Regions from separate parts of the Homo sapiens genome. Here region 2 is linked to region 1. Evidence: promoter capture Hi-C in 16 types of primary human blood cells and fetal thymus (Javierre and others, 2016). All regions are on one chromosome and are shown on one strand. The core of a region is centred on a gene start or on the middle of the fragment in contact, and the rest is flanking DNA. Distances in the headings are between cores, read along the strand shown.

The links. Contacts are between HindIII fragments. The CHiCAGO score rates a contact against its expected background, and 5 or more counts as called.
Region 2: a fragment that was not itself captured here is called in contact with the fragment with the promoter of SGF29 in region 1 in 2 of 17 cell types (M2 macrophages and M0 macrophages); the score reaches 6.6 in M2 macrophages.

The regions. Positions count from the first base shown.
Region 1 is chr16:28,552,591-28,555,290 of GRCh38, reverse strand. SGF29 (SAGA complex associated factor 29) reads right to left here and starts at 1,371. Exons shown (of 10, transcript NM_138414.3): 1 at 1,194-1,371. RefSeq lists a silencer at 943-1,062 and an enhancer at 1,083-1,402. The HindIII fragment of the contact is 18,994 bases long and covers 1-2,700 here.
Region 2 is chr16:28,612,679-28,615,378 of GRCh38, reverse strand. LOC107984835 (a long non-coding RNA gene) reads right to left here. Exons shown (of 2, transcript XR_007065036.1): 2 at 1-41. It overlaps LOC124903674 (a long non-coding RNA gene), which reads left to right and starts at 848. Exons shown (of 2, transcript XR_007065047.1): 1 at 848-1,175; 2 at 1,411-2,700. It also overlaps a transcript of SULT1A1 not described here. RefSeq lists enhancers at 1-113, 1,102-1,651, 1,652-2,202, 2,450-2,700. The HindIII fragment of the contact is 7,854 bases long and covers 1-2,700 here.

The sequences.
Region 1 (2,700 bases), core at 122-2,621:
GATTTCACCACGTTGCTCGGGCTGGTCTCAAACCCCTGAGCTCAGGCAGTCTGCCCACCTCGGCCTCCCAAAGTGCTAGGATTACACGCATGAGCCACCGCGCCTGGCCAGTATTTACATTTAAAATGTGAAACTGGGATTGCGGTGGCTCATGCCTGTAATTCCAGCATTTGGGGAGGCTTTGGTTAGGAGGACTGCTTAAGCCCAAGAGTTTGAGGCTGCAGTGAGCTGTAATAACACCACTGTTCTCCAGTCTGAGCAACAGAGAACGTGTCTCTAATAAAAACAAAAATGTGAGATGATGCCTAGGTTAGAATCAGCAGAGGAGAAGCCAGAGAGAGCAGAGGCAAAGGAAGAGAACGTTCAGCAAGCCAAATGAAAACAGTGTTTCAAGGAGGGGCAGTGATCCACAGCATCAAATGCTGAACAGGACTGAGACCTAACTTAACAATGCATTTGGCCACCTAGAGATCACTGGTGGCTTTGACAAGAAGCCTTTTTAGTGGAGTGGTGGAGACCAAAGCCTGACTAGAGGCTCAAGGGTTCAAGACTTGGAGGAGAAAAGGCATTAGTGAGGGTAGACTAAGGCCTTTGGCTGCAAACCGGAGCCGAGGAGGAGGTAACTGGAGGATAGCGAGGGTGAAGGAGGCTGTTTTGTTGTTCTTAAGACGGGCATTTTTTGGCCGGGCGCGGGGGCTCACGCCTATACTCCCCACACTTTGGGAGGCCGAGGCGGGAGGTTGAGCCTCCTGGGCAAACGACGAGCTGTTAGTGTATCTTGTTAAGAACTATATATATATACAAAATTTTTGTGCAAATCATAAAATAAGTGCTGGAGTTCGGGGCCCATCCTCTGTCCGCATCTTCGTGACCCGGGTCCGAGTACCCCACCTGGAAGCTGCGTCCGTGCCGAGCCCAGCGTGTCGCTGTTTCCCACCCTCGCCGGGGATGGAAGCACGCAAGCGCAGACCTCGAGCGGCCGGGCGCAGGGCCCGCCCTCCCCGAGCCCCGGCCCCGCCCTCCTCTCCCGCCCCCACCCCCACGAGCCCCGCCCCCCTCCCGCCCAGAGCGCGTGCGCACCGCCCCTAGAGCGCCGCCTCAGGGAGGTCGGGAGCCGCGGCGCGGAGGGAGGACTCAGCCCTTCGCTCCCGCGTTTCGCCGGAGGTCTCAGGCCACGGCCCGTCGCCACCTACCGAGTCCGGGACAAAACAAGCTCGTCGGGCTGGAAACTGCGACGAGGGGAGCAGGCGCGTTCCTCGAACCCTTTTTCGGAGTCTGCGGATGATCACAGACCTGCGTTCGAAGATTGGCGGCACGTCGAGAACCGCACACGCTTTTTTTTCCTTTTATGAGCGTAGTCGCGCGCGGAGGACCTTGCACGCATGCGTAGTCGTTCCTCTGTGACGTGACCCGCTGCCCCGTGGGAAATGTAGTTTTCACTTGGCACACCGCTCCGGCTCTTGGCGGAACCCTAATTTAACCAACCAAAGTGCTTGTGCGTTTTCAGCGTTTTCTCCCATTTCCCCAGACTCTATTTAAAACAAAATGCAATAAATAAATAAATAAATAAAACTTGAAAGCGAACAGATTGCTGCTTGCTGGAGGTGGGTGGGCGCAGGGGTAATATGAAAACTGTACTTTCTGCTCAATTTTGTTGTGAACCTAAAAATGCCCTAAAAAATAAAAGTCTGTTGTTAAAAAATTAATTAAAAACAGGCCGGGCGCGGTGGCTCACGCCTGTAATCCCAACACTGGGACGCTAAGGCGGGCGGATCACCTGAGTTCAGGAGTTTGAAACCAACCCGGCCAACATGGTGAAACCCCGTCTCTACTAAAAAATACAAAAATCAGCCGGGCGTGGTGGCGGGTGCCTGTAATCCCAGGTACTGGGGAGGCTGAGGCTGGAGAATCGCTTGAATTCAGGAGGCGGAGGTTGTAGTGACTGGAGATTGTACCATTGCACTCCAGCCTGGGTGACAAGAGGGAAACTCCATCTCAAAAAAACAAACAAACAAAAAACAAGCAGATCTTTAGACCCAGAAATCGCACTTCTAGGGAATCTTCTCAGGAAAGTACTAAGGATATGGACGTGCAATGGACATGTAGCCTCAATGGTATTTTATCGAAAGCCATCCTGGTATCTTAAAGTTTCTTACATAACCTACAAATGTCTGTAATTATTTGTTGATTATTTGATAAACTTGCAAGTCCTATGAGATTGGGATCATCTTGTGTTCACCTGTGTATTCCTAGTACCTAGCACAGTGCCTGGCCATCACATGTTTCTTTTTTTTTCTCTTTGAGACAGGGTCTCGCTCTGTTGTCCAGGTTGGAGTGCAGTGGTGCCATCAGGGCTCCTGAGTAGCTAGGACTACAAGCACACACCAGCACATTCTGCTGATTTTTAAATTTTTTTTGGTAGAGATGGGGGTCTTGCTATGTTGCATAGGCTGGTCTTGAGTTCCTGGGCTCAAGCGATCCTCCTGCCTCAGCCTCCCAAAGTGCTGGGATTACAGGCATGAGCCACCAACCTCAGCCCCGTCAGTATTTTTCTGTTTATTAGAGAATCTCAGGCGTTAGCACTGAAACTATGTTAACCCCAAAATTAATGCATCATTTTCTTCCATCACACTTGCAGTTCTTTCTGTGGGCGTCAGGTCAGTGAATGACATGCCCATCCACCCAGCTGCAGTTCTACTT
Region 2 (2,700 bases), core at 47-2,546, 60 kb before region 1:
CTCACGCTTTGCCTTCTTCATCAATGTCATCTACCTCATACCTGTGGACAAAAGGAGGAAAATGCAGGATGCAGCCAGGGGCACAGTCCCTGTAGGGGAGTGTGGAGGACAGGGGCAGGGCAAGGACCCGGTGCTCCCTGCACAGCCGGCCCCGCCCACAGCACGCTCTGTGGAGTTTTTCTCCTGCTGTGCAGATGAGAAGCAGAGTGGCAGCCCAGGCAGGTGCAGTGACCAGAGAGCAGCCCTGGGGCTGTTGGAGGAGCCCCTGGGAGCCTCCATCTCCCGAGTGAGCCCAGCAGGACTGTGACCCGTTCGGCCAGGTGTCCTACAGGGGCTGCTGGGCTCAGCTACAGATGGGCGAGACCGCAGCATAGTGGGCGCCCAGCGGGAAGAACCAGGGAGGGACAAAGTGAGTTTGCAGGTGGTGGAGAGGCTCTCTTCTTGATGTCGGTGCTGAACCAGAAGTGTGTTTAAGGAGAATTTCCTAAAATTCAAAGAGTTCCACGGGAGTCGCGGCTAGGCCGGGGCGCTTCTTCAGCATCTACCTGCTCTACGGCCTGAACCCCCGTCATCAGGGCCACGTTTATATGGGGTTCACTGTCAGCCCTGCTTGTCAGGTCCAGCAGCACAATGGGGGCCACACAAAAGGCAGGGCCCAGGCCTGGCGCGGTGGCTCAAGCCTGTAAACCCAACACATTGGGAGGCCAAAGCGGTTGGATCACTTGAGGTCAGGAGTTCGAGACCAGCCTGACCAACATGGTGAAACCCCGTCTGTAATAGAAATACAAAAATTAGTCGGGCATGGTGGCACGTGCCTGTAATTACAGCTACTCAAAAGGCTGAGGCGGGAGAATTGCTTGAAAGATGGGGCAGGGGGCAGCGGCAGAGGTTGCAGTGAGCCAAATCGGGCCATTGCACTCCTGGTGAGACCGGAAGGGTCTCTGTGCCAGGAGGAAGGCTTCCTGGAGGAGGCGGACCCCGCTGGGCACAAGCCTGATGAGAGGGAAGGGCATGCCTGTGACATGGGTGGGGAGTCCAGGGTGGGGACGGGACTGTCACAGAGGAGGAGCATGACGGGGAGACAGTGCCCTGGGAATCTTGGCGGTGGAACTCCGGGGAGGAGCTGGCTGGGGCGGAGGTGATGATCCAGGATGCGGGCCAGCGTAGGGGTCTTGGTGGGCATGCTGGGGTCGGATGGAGCGCAGGAGAGAGAAGAGGGGGGACAGGTGGGTACCTGGGCTGGAGGCGCGGCCTGAGGTGGGCAGGTGCAGGGGGCGTGACTTCATTTAGGGGCAGGGCCTGGGGCTAGGCTGAAGCCGGCAGTGAGGACCCCGCTCTCGGGTGGAATTGGAGGGGACCCGCGGTTGGGCGCGGCAGGGCTCACAGGGACACCCCCGTTCTCCTCCCCAGGGAGAAAGTGCTCGTCGTGCACGGCTTCCCGCCCGCCGTGGCAACCCTTCGGGTAAGGAAGGAGACCAGGCGGCGGCAGGCGGGCAAGGGCTTGGGGTCCGCCCCCCTGCCTGGAGCCGCCCTAACTCCTCCGTATCCTGCCGCTGTTGGAGTGGGCCTGGAACCCCCTCCATAGGCGCGCCTCCTACTCCCGCTGCACCCCGACCTCCGCCGGGACCTCTATGCGCCGCGCCGCACGGGCGATGGCCTTCGGGCCTCCCCGGCCCCAGGGCACCGCGCAGGTCCCTTTGCTGGCACCAAGCCCGAGCCTGAGCCGGACCCGGGGCCCAAGAGGCCTGTGCGCCCTGCGAGCCCTTGAGCTCCAGGGGAGGTCCGCCCCAGGCAGGGCGGCTCATCCCCCAGACCACTTCGGATCCAGCTGTTTGTTGAGGAGCCAGGAAACGCCCTGACACTTTTGCGGCCCTGTCCCCGTCTCTAAGATGGGGATGATAGTATTTCTGGCCATTCCTGAGCACAGCAGGACCTGCCTTTTCCCTTTGACTGGAAGGTTCTTCTCTACACCTATCTTGATAACCTGCCACCTCCACAGGGAGGTCTTCTCTATCTCCCGATTTAAAATTGCAGCTCTGAGAAGCCGGGCATGGTGGCATATGCCTGTAGTCCCAGCTACGGGGGGAGGCTGAGGTGGGAGGATCGCTTGGTCCCAGGAGTTGGAGGCTGCAGTGAGCTCTGATCGCTCCACTGCACTATAGCCTGGGCAAAAGAGCAAGAAACTGTCTCTAAAAATATAAAATAAAATTGCACCTCTTGTGTACTTCCCCGTCTGCTTCTTTACCTGAATACTTACTATCTCACCGGCTAGGTGCTTTATGACTCTCGTTAGTCTCTCCCACCCCAACCTTTGCACTACATTGCCCGAGGGCAGCTCTTGTCACTGCTGTAGAACAAAGTCCTGCACAGAGACGATAGCCAAGAAATAGTTAATAAAATAATGGAAAACGGGTGCCTTCTACTGAGCACCCGCTAATAGTGAGTGAGTAGAGGACTTGCCCTGGGGACATTCAGTGACCTGCTGGGTGTTGCTGAGCTGTGAGGAAGTTCAGGTCTGGCTGCAGTGGTGAGGCTGTGACTCAATCAATCACTGCTGATGCTCCCAGGACCTGCACCAGCTTAGTCCCAGGGGCAAGGATTTTAAACCCCCACCTCCATTTCCTCATCTGTAAGATGCAAATAACAGTCACCTCTGCCTCACGGGATGGAGCTGTGTAATGCCCGGAACAGTGCCTGCTG